2 separate regions of the Homo sapiens genome follow, and region 2 is linked to region 1. Evidence: promoter capture Hi-C in human tissues and cell types (Jung and others, 2019). All regions are on one chromosome and are shown on one strand. The core of a region is centred on a gene start or on the middle of the fragment in contact, and the rest is flanking DNA. Distances in the headings are between cores, read along the strand shown. Region 1 overlaps LINC02942 (long intergenic non-protein coding RNA 2942). Region 2 holds the start of CR2 (complement C3d receptor 2).

What was found. Contacts are between HindIII fragments. The study calls those that stand out against the background at their distance.
Region 2: a contact is called between the fragment with the promoter of CR2 here and a fragment that was not itself captured in region 1, in 1 of the 25 tissues and cell types used here (H1 embryonic stem cells).

Annotation. Positions count from the first base shown.
Region 1 is chr1:207,309,069-207,315,856 of GRCh38, reverse strand. It overlaps LINC02942 (long intergenic non-protein coding RNA 2942), which reads right to left. Exons shown (of 4, transcript NR_186170.1): 4 at 1,676-6,788. The region is part of intron 1 of LOC107985251 (a long non-coding RNA gene); the gene reads left to right. Among named protein-coding and RNA genes, the nearest start is that of CD55, 9.2 kb to the left of the region's middle. The HindIII fragment of the contact is 6,321 bases long and covers 1-5,617 here.
Region 2 is chr1:207,449,047-207,456,137 of GRCh38, reverse strand. It overlaps CR2 (complement C3d receptor 2), which reads right to left and starts at 1,810. Exons shown (of 20, transcript NM_001006658.3): 1 at 1,662-1,810. The coding sequence starts at 1,719. RefSeq lists silencers at 1,252-1,361, 1,742-1,971. The HindIII fragment of the contact is 10,162 bases long and covers 1-4,817 here.

The DNA.
Region 1 (6,788 bases), core at 1,208-3,707:
GCATATATGAATGTGTGTGAGCATGAGAGTATGTGCATGTATGAATGTGAGCATGTGAGAGTGTGTGTGCATGTATGAATGTGAGCATGTGAGTGTGTGCATGTATATGTGTGAGCATGAGTGTGTGCATGTATGAATGTGTGTGAGCATGTGAGAGTGTGCGTGCATGTATGAATGTGTGTGTGCATGTGTGTGTGTATGAAAGTCTGAGCATGTGTGTGCATGTATGAATGAGTGTGCATGTGTGTGCATGTATGAATGTGTGTGAGCATGTGAGTGTGTGTATGAAAGCCTGTGTGAGCATGTGTGTGCATGTATATGAATGTGTATGAGCATGTGAGAGTGTATGTGCGTGTATGAATGTGAGCATGTGAGAGTGTGTGTGCATGTGAGAGTGTGGTCCAGCACCCAACCGCTCTGAAACACAAATTTCCCACTTATAAAACAGGTGTAATGATATTACCTCATAGAGGTTTTGTGAGGAATAAAGGAAATAATGTATGTAAAGCATTTGGCCCATTGCTTGGCACACAGTACTCTATAAATATTAACAATAATGAATGATCATGGGTGATGACATGAATGAATGTTTCCTATAACAAGACTTGGCCACTTTTCATGAAATCTATAAATACAGCCATGTCATGACATACAGTTTTAAAATTCTGTAAAAGCAATATGAAATTCTCATGTATTAGCAATGTGGAGATCATTTAGTTGTTTTCCTTATTCTTTCCCCACTCAGTAGTATTTTTCCTTTAGCAAAGATTAGGTCATTTACCAAGATTCAGAATTGTATAAACATTGGATTCTTTACCTCCAATGTAGTCCCATCTGCAGTTTGTTTCCCTTGATTTAACAGCTTGCAAGTTAAGCAGATTTACAATTTAAGCTTACTAGAATTGCACAAGGGTAAGGAGGGAAGAAAGAAGAAATTTACATTGAAGGGATCACCTTCCATTGATACTCTCACTTTGAGACTTAACCTTGGTTAACCATCCAGCAGTGCCATGAGTAAACTATTATTACTTACAATTGCACATGTTGGGACAGGTTCAGAGGGGGAAATGATTGGATAAAACAATACAGATGGCAAAGCCAAGCAAAATTTGAACCCAGTTCTGGGGAGATTTAAAATTATGCTCCGTCCACTCTACGTGTTACCTTTTATTTGTTGGTGCATAATGAAGACTAAAGCGTTCCTCGATCTTTCTCAAAGTGTTCATCGGTGAGTATTTTCCTAGCACTGTTCTTTCAGATGTCAAATAAAATCCATTTACCTATATGATGATCATTTCTCTAGGATAAATAGTACTTTCTCATATAGCCAAATGTTCTGCTATGAAGAAGGTAATTTACTTCAGACAAACAATAATTGCAGGTTTTGTTGAAAACACTTCTGTTTTCTCAAGTCCCCCATCTGATACCACCTCCTCTACTACTTCTGTGACATCCTTTCCCCCTCATGTTTCCAGACCATGTGGCCTCATTTTGATGTCATTTAGTCCATTAGCCCAAAGGTCTATAATAATTATGTCAGGGTTTGTTTGTGTGTGTGTCAGGTTTGCATGGAAAAGAACCAATTTAGAAACTTCTTACATAACAGAGACTTACCATATGACCTTATATTTCCAAGTATGGACCCAGGAAAAATAAAAATGTCTACAAAGATTTGTACATAAATGTTTATAGAAGCTTTATTTATAACAGCTACAAGCTGGAAACAATTCATAAGTAGCTGAATGGTTAAACAAATTGTGGCACTTCCATACAATGAATACTACTTCACATTAAAAAGGAACAAATTAATGATACACACAATAGGGATGAATTTCAAAAACTTGCTGAGCAGAGGAAACTAGGCACATAGAGTGGATATTATATGATTTCATTTATATGAAGTTCCAGAACAAGCAAAATCAACTTATGATGATAGAAATCAAAGTAATGACTATCGGGAGTGGGGAGTGCAAGAGGGTAGGAGAATTTACTGCAAAATGGCAAAAGGGAACTTTTGGGGGAAAATGTTCTATATATTTATTGGGGTAGTGGTTACATGGTGTATACATTTGTCAAGACTCGTGAAACTGGATAATTTGAATGTTTCCATTTGTTTTATGTAAATTATACCTCAATGAAGTTGATTAAAAATCATAAAATGGAATCAAAGGTCTCAGATGTGGAGTTGGTGGGCTTTGGCAACAGTGAATCAACTGGGTTATGTGTCAAGAATAGCACAACCAAATACACCTTTTCTCGTTTTGCCCCCTAATTTTGTCAATCAGTTTGAAGTAGTGTTAACCATGGATGTGAAATAATTTGAGCCCATAAAGAACAATATCAATGGGCTTTGCTGACTTGCAAAACACTGAGTTGTTATATATATGAGAAAATTGGCAAAATCACAAAACAATTATAAGCATATTGCATTAATCATTTGATGTGGATAGTGTAACCTTGGTTGTTTACTATATTCTGAGAGACACAGTGTTGAATCAGAATGCTCACCAATTAACAAGCCATCCACAGGAACTTCTGATGCAATTTCCCATGAAAGGAGAACCAAGGAGATTCTTTTCTCCATACTGTTTGATCCCAGCCTGTTCTCACTGCTCCATCTGAAGAGCTAGTGATAGGTTCTCAGAGCTAATGAGGTAATTTTATGGATCTTTTCCACATCACCTCTCACCTGCTCAATGAATCCCCACTAAATCTTGTGCCAGGATAATGTGGCAGACAGAAATAATGACAGCAACAATTTAGATGAATGTAGGACTTATCATCTCTGGGGAGTTTTTCACTAATATCTCACTTAATTCTCAGATCCACTCTGTGAGATAGGTGTTATTATTAACCTCTAAATGAATTTCAGTGATTCTCTAACAAGTCCAAAGTCATACACCTAATAATAATCAGGGTAAAGCATGAACCCACATCATCAACTGCAGGTTTTGTGCTTGGCCCATCACACCACCCACACTTCACAATAAACTACAAAATAAAAAGCAGATCCCTGCAAGCACCATATTTTAAAGGGTGTTGTGTATTTGGTCTGCTCACTCCAAGCACCGGATTTTTACTTTGTCAGTGGGTAATGTAATTGCCCAACAGATTCTTCTTGCCCACTGTCCAGATGGAACTGATTTATCCAGATGGGAATTACAGTAGACAAAGTTTAATACATGTAGAGCTGGCTAAATTGGAGACTGGAGTTTTATTGTTACTCAAATCAGCCTCCCCAAAAAGTCAGAGGCTAGGATTTTTGTAAGACAGTTTGGCGGGTAGGGAGCTAGGGAATGGGGAATGGTGATAAATTGGGTCAGGGATGGAATCACAGGGAGTCCAAGCTGTCCTCTTGCATTAAGTCAGTTCCTGGGTGGGGGCCACAAAACCAGATGAGCCAGTTTACCAGTCTGGGTGGCACCAGCTGGTCTATCAGAATGCAGGGTCTGAAAAATGCTTCGAACACCAATCTTAGGTTTTACAACAGTAATGTTATCTATCAGAGCAATTGAGCTTAGGAATCTTGTGATCTCTGGTTGCATGACTCCATAATTCCTAATCTTGTGGGTAATTTTGTTAGTTTTACAAAGGCAATCTGGTCCCCAAACAAGGAGGGGATTTGTTTTGGGGAAGGCTGTTATCATCTTTGTTTCAAAGTTAAACCATGAGCTAAATTCCTCTCAAAGTTAGTTCAGCCTGTACCCGGGAATGAACAAGGACAGCTTGGAGGTTAGAACCAAGATGGAGTTGGTTAGGTCAGATTTCCTTTACTGTCATAATTTTCCTATGTCATATTTTTCTCACTGTCATAATTTTTGCAAAGGTGATTTCAGTAATATAACTGGCTCAGATATATCTTTGTAATAATGTCTACAGATTCCATTAATTCAGAAATTTAAAAGAATAAGGTGCATTAAGAGAATAATTATACCCATGCTTCAGAATTTTACCAGTTAAGTTAAAATACATGTAAATAAATTTAAATGCAATATAAAATACATTCAAGTGTAGATGTAACGATAATGTCATTCTGCGGCCAGGTGCGATGGCTCATGCCTGTAATCCCAGCACTTTGGGAGGCTGAGGAGGGCAGATCATGAGGTCAGGAGTTCGAGACCAGCCTGGCCAATATGGTAAAACCCCGTCTCTACTAAAAATACAAAAATTAGCTGGGCATGGTAGCGGGCGCCTGTAGTCCCAGCTACTCAGGAGGCTGAGGCAGGAGAATCGCTTGAACCTGGGAGGCAGAGGTTTCCGTGAGTCGAGATTACACCACTGCACTCCAGCCTGGGTGACAGAGTGAGACTCTGGCTGGAAAATTAATAAAAACTATAATGTCATTCTGATGTTAATTACTAAACACTTGTTATGCCTGCTTAGATATTTTCTGCACTATAGTTACTTCCCATATATCATTATCAGTTGTCCTTCAGGGACAGTGTGGTTAAAAATAATCACTCTGGTGACTCACTAAGGTTTTGCAATTTAACCATTTCATGCCCTCTTAAATAGAAGTTATGTTTAAACTGTTTACTTCTTTCATTCTCCATTGTTTTTCTTAAGATTTTTAGCTGGAAAACCGGCCTGAGGAGGTAATCCACAATACAGAAAATTGATTTTGAGCAAAGAGATATTAGGCTTATATAAACAGAGATTTAGAATGTGCTTAAATATCCAACTACACAGGAATGGTTAAAAACCTTTTAGTACATATATACACATTATTAAGTATTATGCAATTATTAGTTATGTATACAAATAAATTTGTAATGGAATATGAAATGTTTTATTAAAATGTTTAAGCAAGGCCAGGTGTGGTGGCCCACGCCTGTAATCCCAGCACTTTGGGAGGCCGAGGTGGGCAGATCACAAGGTCAGGAGATCGAGACCATCCTGGATAACACGGTGAAACCCCGTGTCTACTAAAAATACAAAAAAATTAGCTGGGTGTTGTGGCGGGTGCCTGTAGTCCCAGCTACTCAGGAGGCTGAGGCAGGAGAATAGCATGAACCTGCGAGGCGGAGTTTTCAGTGAGCCAAGATCGGGCCACTGCACTCCAGCCTGGGCGATAGAGTGAGACCCCATCTCAAAAAAAAAAAAAAAAAAAGTTTAAGCAAGAAGAAAATTCAATTGTAACTGTGTATTAACATGGAAACAAAGTTATTCAAAGAAAAGACTGAAAAATGTTTTATTAAAATGTTTAAGCAAGAAGAAAATTATATCTTCTATATATAATATGATAATCAATTGTAACTTTGTATTAACATGGAAACAAAGTTATTCATAGAAAAGACTGAAAAAAAATAACCAAACTAAGGGTATGTGAATAAGTTTGCTGATTTTTTTCTTTGTATATTTTTTCCATATTGAGCATGCTTTATTGTTACATCTAGAAAGCTTTACTTTCATTTTAAAAGAAATCCTGCCAGCCAATTCATAATCATAATAGTTAAGTATTTGATTATGCTATGTTGTAACTTATTGAAACCTAGAAACTCATTTTTTCAAAGCAGATACTCTTACTTGAACTTTTTGAAATTTAATTCCCTTTTAATTATATCTAGCCTTTGTAGTTTGAAAAACTTTTCTCCTTGGTAGAAAGATAAAATGCAAATTGTTTCTGTAAGTCCTTGTGGGACTTCTCATCCAGGATCCAGCCAATTCCACTCTCACTTACCCCAGGCTAGTTTGAGATTTTGATAAATCTTATCCAGACTGCCACAATAAGCCGTTACTTGTTCTCTTCCTGTCAGCTGATTACATGTACAATGTCCAGATTAAGTGCACATGCTCAGCAATCACTTCCCGTTTTCACAAAATAAAGTCCAAGCTTCTTAGTCTGCTTTCAAGGCCATTTATAATTTGTTATTAGGCCTTTCCTGCTTTGATCTCACAGGTTTTATTTGTGGATGAACAAAATGTGCTATGCTCTAGTCAAATTACCTTCCTCGCTGATCCCTGGCATGCTATGGTTACCACCTCTGCGTGTTGATTCACTTACAAGGAATGCCCTCCCCAGCCAGCTGGTCCAATTAAATGCTTCCTTGGCTATCAGTCTGAAGGGTTTGCACTCTCTTCTGATCTCCTAGTGTAATACAGCAATTTCCCCTAAAGTATGCTTGCATTAGTTTGTGACATCTCTTCCAGTATTATGTTGAACTCCTCCTTAAATCATATAAGGTTGTTTAGCTCTGTTTCTTCTTCCCCTCAATTAGATTATAAAGCAATCTGAGACTCCCTCGCCTTCTGCTTGGACTGGAATCCTACCTCCCTCTCTTATGAGCTCCATGACCTGGACAAGTTACTTCATTTTAGTGTGCCTCAGTTTCCTCATTTATATAATAAAATGGAGATAATAATGTCTATCTCATAGAATTAAAAGAGATAATATGTAAAGAACTTGGGACAGTGCCTACTGTACATATAACACCAATTAAATATTAACTGCCATAACTTATTAGAAGGTATTTTAATGTAAGGATTATGTTTCATATTTCTTTATATCTTCCACAACAGTTGGAAAATTTTACTAGGGACTGATGAGTAAAGATTTATATATTTGTTGACTGTTTTATTAACAAGATTAACTTTTGTTAATAAGACTATCCCAAGCAGGCAAATCTTGGGGACTTTATTAATACTCTATGATGTATCAACATTGTATTATGTGCTGTGCATACATTCTTTTACTAAGCATTCACAATAATTCTTTTCCCACATGGCTTTTATATGTGGTTTTAAAAATTTAACTTTAGACTATGTATGCATATGCATGTGTACAGGCA
Region 2 (7,091 bases), core at 561-3,060, 140 kb before region 1:
CCAGATTTTCTTCCACTGGAGGCCTTTTAGATTTTTGAACAATGGAGTGAAATAATGAAAATATATATATTTCTTAATTTTTTGTTTTCATAATTGGAAAGTGACCTATAGGTCACTCTTTAACCTTTCCAATCATAAGAACCAAAATCTCTTAAAAGAGATGAGGTTGTTACACAGGTAATTATAATGCTTAGGATGGGAATACTGGTACAAAAATGAGAAATGGACAAACAACAGAAGCACAGTAGCTTGAATGGCTGATAGGTAGACCTGGTATTTCATGGGGCTCCAGTTAAGTGACCTACATGATGCTGCTGCTGTGGCCCTGAATTGGCAGGACTGGTGAAGAATTTGATTTTCAGTTGATAATATCCTCTTTGAAATTTAGAAATAGGTGAGAAGTCAGGGACGTACTCTGCTCTTAGAAAAAGTGTGAATATACATTTGTTCAAAGGGAGTTAATATGCAGAAAAAGAAAAGAGATGAAGATAATGGTCTGGAGAAAGGTTTAAGGGTCAGGAGACAGTAAAATGTCAGGAAAGCAAAAAGTTGTAATAAACTAATATGTGCTGTATTCCAGACACCTCAATAAGCTGGATGTCCATAGAAACAATTGGACACCCAGCTTGTTAGCTTAAATGCTGGCTCCATAAAATCAAGTCTGTACAGGAGGCTTATTACTGATATTTAGTAGTAACGACTAACATCCAACTTTCTTTGCTTAGTTTCATCTGTGCTCAGGGCAGCTCAGTGAGGTGGAAGGCCAGTTAATCACTAGTTTCATTTTACAGATGAAGAAACTGAAGATCAGGGAGCTAAATGACTTGCCAAAAGTCACCCAGTTATTGAGGTCTGCACACAGTAAACGTCTTATAAACTAGGAATGCACGGTACCGTGGAGATAATTAGAAACTTAGACCCATCCTGTAGCCAAGAGACGCTAATCTTAATTATAATCTTTCTTTAAAATCAAGCCAATCTGGAGGAAAAAAAGATATAATAAACGGTGAATGAGACCTTTGCGGACGTCCACACCATTACAGTAGGTTAATAACAAGAAGAAAACAATAGTTTTAATCCATGTCTCAAAAATAACTACGGATGGTTAATGTTTAGGATCTCTACCAATATCACATTAGAGTTCAGAAAATCTGAGACCCATGCTTGGGAACCAGGTCTTACTCTTATTTAGGGAAGGGAGCCGAGGTTCTGCCGCTTTTGCTGGGCAAGAGCGCGGTTCGGGTGTACAGAAACAGCCTCACGTGGCTAGCTGGTGCCTCATGCAGTGGGTAGGTTTCCCGTGGCGAGCGGTAGCGCTGACCGCCGGCCAGAGAGCGATGAGCACCTGCAGAATCCTGGGGGCGGGGAGCCCGGCAGGAGACCGCGAGCACCCGCACGCCGCCAGCCACACCGGGCCGACCAGACAGCGCCCCTCTGTGGCGCAGCCTCCAATTCTGGAGGTCCCAGCTCCCGGAGGGGCCAGTGGGGACAATCAGGACCAGGCGGTTTATTGCAGTGGTCCCTCAAAGCTAGCGGGAGGCGGACACGCGTCGAGCACTGCCCCCACCGTCTCGCTTTTGGCCCCCTGCTTTGCATCGCGGCACAGAAACTTTCCCTGCCCGGGACGCGTCCCCACCTCCGTGCTCCCCCTCCCAGCTCACCGAGGACCCCCGGTGCGACGAGAGCCAAGAAAACCCCGAGCAGGCCCGCGGCGCCCATGCCACGGCCGAAGCCCCCGCGGCGGGATGCGTTCCGAGACCCGCGAGCGTCCGGCAGCTCTGGGAGGGCAAGGCTGGAGCAGCAAGCAGCTGTGAGCCAGGAGAGGCGGGCCCTTAAATAGTGTCCGGCACACGTGCTAGTTCTGAGCGCACACCTGCAGGCGGCCTGGGGGCTGACGCGGCGCCGGTGAGGGTGGGACAAGCGGGAGGGACGGCCCGGCACGAGGTGGGCGGGGAGCTCTGAGCCACTCTTTGGCTCAGACTCACCCCTCGTTGCGGTGGCTTCCCCACTTTTTTGACCACGCAACCCACTACACTCACTTGTTTCTCTTACTAGAACTTAAACAAAACTTTCACAAGTTAGTACTCACCCTTAGTAATCTACAATGTTCGTCCTCTGTGCCATGCTGTGTTATGCTAGACTAGGCTAGGCTATCCTATTCTTATTAGAAATCCACCAAACTCATTTCAAAACCTATTAGTGGATTCATCTCCCAGTTTGAAAAAGCAGTGTAAGTTTACTTAGGGAATTTAGGAACAGCAGCCACTTCTGCTCTGTTCTTTATTTTGAAGTAATCTCTACAGAAAAGTTTCAAGAGTACTGCAGAGAATTCCCATATACTTGTCACCCAGATTCTCTGCATGTTAACATTTTGCTGTATTTTCTTTACCATTCTCTATTCTTTCTCTATAGACATATATGTACATATATGTGATTATATAATTATAATTATATAATTATTACTTTGGAACCATCTAGCATTTATTCCTATTCTAAATGGTTCACTAAGGACTTTCTGTTCCATAACTAGAGTGCAATGATCAAAAATAAGAACTTAACATTGACACAAGACTATAAGCTACCATCTGTATTTAAATTTTGACAATCATCTCAATAACCTGTGTTATGGTAAAAACAATAACAACAATAGAAACCAACCTTTGTTTTTCCTGGTCCAGAATCATTTCAGGATCATGTATTGTGTTTGATCATTATGCCTTCCCCCCACCCCCAGTTCTTTATTCTGGAAAAATGTCCTCAGCATTTTTGGTATTGCATGACCTTTACATTTTTGACGAATACACCACAATTATTTTTGGAGAATGACTTTTAAGTCCGTTATCTATTATAATAACAAATTACCCTGAAGGTAGTGGTGTAAAGCAAGAATAAACATTTATGATCTCACAGTTTCTGTGGGTCGGTCAGGTGGTTCTGGCTTGGGATCGCTCAGGAGATTGCAGTTAAGACACCAGCTGGAGGTGCAGTCATCTGAAGGGTTAACTGGGATAGGCGAATCCACATCTAAGATGGCTCACTTACCAGCCTTTGGCTGGAAGCTTCATTCTTCACCACGTGGATTTTGCCATAGGGCTCGCTGCTTGTGTGTTGAGTGTCCTCGTGACATGCCAGCTAGCGTCTCTGAGAACAAGAAAGAAGAAGCCATAATGTCCTTTGTGACCTGTCCTCAGAAATCACAATATGTTAACTCCAGAATATCCAATTGATTGTACAGATCAGCCCTTTTCAGTGTAGGAGGGCAGTATACGTGGATGGTAATGTCAGGAGACAGGATCACACCCCACAATTTGGATTTGTCTATCATTTCTTCATGATAGATTCAGGTTATTGAATCTAATTATTTGACAGGAATACCAGAAAGGATGTCTTATCCTTACGGGGAGGCATATGTTGTCTATTTGTCCTATTACTGGTGGTGGTAACTTTGATCACTTAGTTAAGATGGTGCCTGCCATGTTTCTTAGTGTAGACTCAGTATTTTTCCCTTTGTAATTAATAAGTATTTTATAGGGAGATACTTTAAAACTATGTAAATTCCTCATTTTTTCATCAAATTTTTACCCACAAATTTTAGCGTCTATTGATGATCCTTTCTTGAATCAATTTTTACTATGATGGTTGTCAAAGGGTGTTTTTTCCTAATTTAATAATTACTTCTATATTCATCTGTTGGCATTTTACTGTAAATAAAAGTTTTCCCTTCTCTATTTATTTATTCATTTATCTATATCAGCATAAACTATATCAATATGAATTTTATTTATTTACTCAATGGGTCATAATTCATGGCTACCATTATTTATTTTGATGCTTAAATTCTCCCTGATCGGGCCAGTGGGAGCCCTCAAAATAGTTCCTATGTCATTTTGACTTGTTCTTATTGTTCTTTGAGCACTTCCTTACTTTCTGGCACACACACAAAAAAAAATGCTCCAGACTCACCTCTAGACCTGACACTGGAATTTGCTGTTTCTCCAAGGAATGCTGGTTCTTTCTGGCAGAGAATGGCATTTAGATGCCAGAATTGGATGCTAAGTGTGTTCATTTTTATTGGAGTATCATTGTTTCCGCACCCTCTCAGCAGACAGAGCAAGGATATGTATTATATATATATATGTATATCCATTCCCATATCTATATTTATATATGTCATGAATTCACAGTGATTCTTCCAATTTCAGTCCGTTAGCATAGAGTTCATTCTGTCCTTCCCTCTTTCTGCATGTGTAACTCCCTTCTTCAACAGTGAGACACCTAGATCCACAATATATTTACTTATTTGCTTAATCCTAGAATACACAGAAAGAAGTTTAAAATTGCTATTTCTATACTATGATGGAAATCAAATCTACTCGTTTTTAAAGTTTTATTTTGTTTATAGCCCGAAAATATAAAAACAGCATTGTTGTGTTCCAAAGTTACTCAGATTATTCCCCCTCTTCAGTGTGATTGTTATTCATTCAAAATACTGTTAATTTGTTTCTCTTTGTATTCTATTTTAGTTTCCCCTCAATCTTTTTGATTTTTTTTTGCTTAAATAAAACATTAACGTAGTCCCAAATGTCAGATTGATATAAAAAGACACAATAAAAGGGAAATGTCACTTCTCTCCATCACCTCTATCCTCTCCACCATAGGTACTCAATTTCAGTAGTTTCTGGTTTGTCCTTAGTTTTGCTCAAATGAGCTGCTACACATTTGTCTTCTTAGTTCTCCTTTTTTATTACATTTTAAAAGCATGCTATAGGTATTCTTTTGCACATTTCTTTTTTAACTTAACAAATATGCTGGAATCCACTATTTCCTACAAATTCAAATATTCCTCATTCATTTTTACAGTTGCATGCAATACTTCACTGTGTGGATATGCCATAGTTTATTCAACCATCTCCCTATGTATGGACAGTTTGGTTGTTTTTAATGCTCTAAAGAGTAACTTTGTGAATATTTATTTTTCTGCTGTTAGAAGCATGTCTTCAGTTCAAATTCCTAGAAGTGGGATTGCTGGGTCAAATGGTAAACACATATGTAGGTTTGTTAGATATTGCCAAATTTCCTTAATAAGAGTTGTACCACATATATTCCTACAAAACTGTGTGAGAGCACCTCATTAATCTAATGTGCTGTCATCATGGTTTTAAATTTTAGTCAGTCTAATAAATGAGACATTTTATCTCAGTGTAGCTTTAATTTGCATTCCCTATGAGTAACGCTGAACATTTATAAAATATATTTTTATCATGTATATTTGCCTTTTCCTCTCTCAATGTTTGAGACTTATTTATATATATTAGGATTGTTATTCTGGATGTGTTTTGCAAATGTTTCCTCCCAGTTTGTCAGTTGTCTTTTGACTTTGTTTATGGCATCGTTTTGCCTTGTAAGCATTGTCTGTTTTAATGCAGTCAAGTTGATAAATCTTTTCTTTTATTGCATCTGGATTAGGAGCCATGGTTTTAAAAACCATTCTCCAGGTTACACAATAATTCATCCATGTTTTCTTCTTGCACGTGTATTGTTTCATTTATTTTACAGTTAGATTCATGATTCTTTTCATGCTTATTCTTGTCTGCCCTCATAAATTTCCCAAATATATTTTTATTAATAAACACTTCTCAGCAACACAAAAACTCAACTCCTCTGTAGATGAGTGTGTTGGTGTCTAGTATCTTGCAGTGATCCTGTTTACATGTTTGTCAGGAAAAAAGAAATCACTGCCTTCTGCTCCAAACCCTCCAATAATTTCCTATCTCATTCAAAGTAGAAGGCAATGTCATAACTATGATCCATTCAGTCCAATGTGATCTGCTTTCCTTTAACTTCTCTGAGTTCATCTTTGACCCTTTTCTCCTTCTTTTCTCCCTCTGGCCACAATGGCCTTTGCTGCTCTAGTATTCTTTGCACTCTGACTGGGGTCCTTTGCCCTCGGAGGGTCTTGTTTGCTCTGTCCAGATTGTTTTTCTCCTGAATAGCCCCAGTGGCCAGCTCCCTCATTTCATTCTAGTCTTTACTCGAAGATACCTTCTCAGTGAGATCTTTCCTAGATATCCTCTTACACTTTTACCTCCCTTTCCATTCATATCCCCTTCTTTGGTCTATTTTTCTTCTCTTACTACTTAGCTCCATTGAACACATTATATATTTTACAATGACCTCATTTGTGTTTGTCTCTCTTACAATGTAAGATCCATGAAGGAAATATTTTGTTTTTTTGTCTGTCTGTTTCTCTATGTTCGAGCCCCCTAGTTCCATGAATATTGCCTGATCCATGGTAGACACTTCATAGAAATTTTTTGAATGAATAAATACACAAATCTCATGAGAAAATGGGGATTCTGCACAGAGTTTTCATCCTGTAATATGCTTAAGACATTAGACATACATCAAAAGGATTTTGTAGTTGTTTATAATAAACAAAATCCAGAGTACATACATGTTGGTGCCAATGGGGACAATTTTGAAAAAAAGGTAAATGGAACTAAAATTGGAGCAGTGATTTGTAGGTGTACACAAAGGAGGTTGTCCTGTGTTAATTTTTACTACAATTGACTAAGCTTTATATGCAGGGAGTTGCACAAGGTAGGCAATTTGACTTAAGATACTTGAATTAAGCCGAGTGCTGTTGTGGTCCTCTGGCTTCTAACTGAAGGAAACACATTCTTCTTCAGAGGAACCATCCTTCAGTTTTTTTGTATTGTTTTGTTAGAGACAGTATCTTGCTGTGTTGCCCAGGCTGGAGTGCAGTATCACTATCATAGCTCACTGCAGCCTCGAACTCCTGGGCTCAAGTGATCCTCTTGCCTCACCACAGTAGCTGGGACTACAGGCACATGCCACCATGCATGGCTATTTTTAAAGATTTCTGTAGAGACAGGGTTTCCCTTGTTGCCCAGGCTGGTCTCAAACTCCTGGCCTCAAGCAATCCTCCTGCCATGTCCTCAAAGTGCTAGGATTACAAAGATAGTTTTCAACAGATTAAAATCTACCACAAACATAAACTCATAAAAGATTTGGCCGGGTGCAGTGGCTCACGGCTGTAATCCCAGCACTTTGGGAGGCCCAGGCGGGCG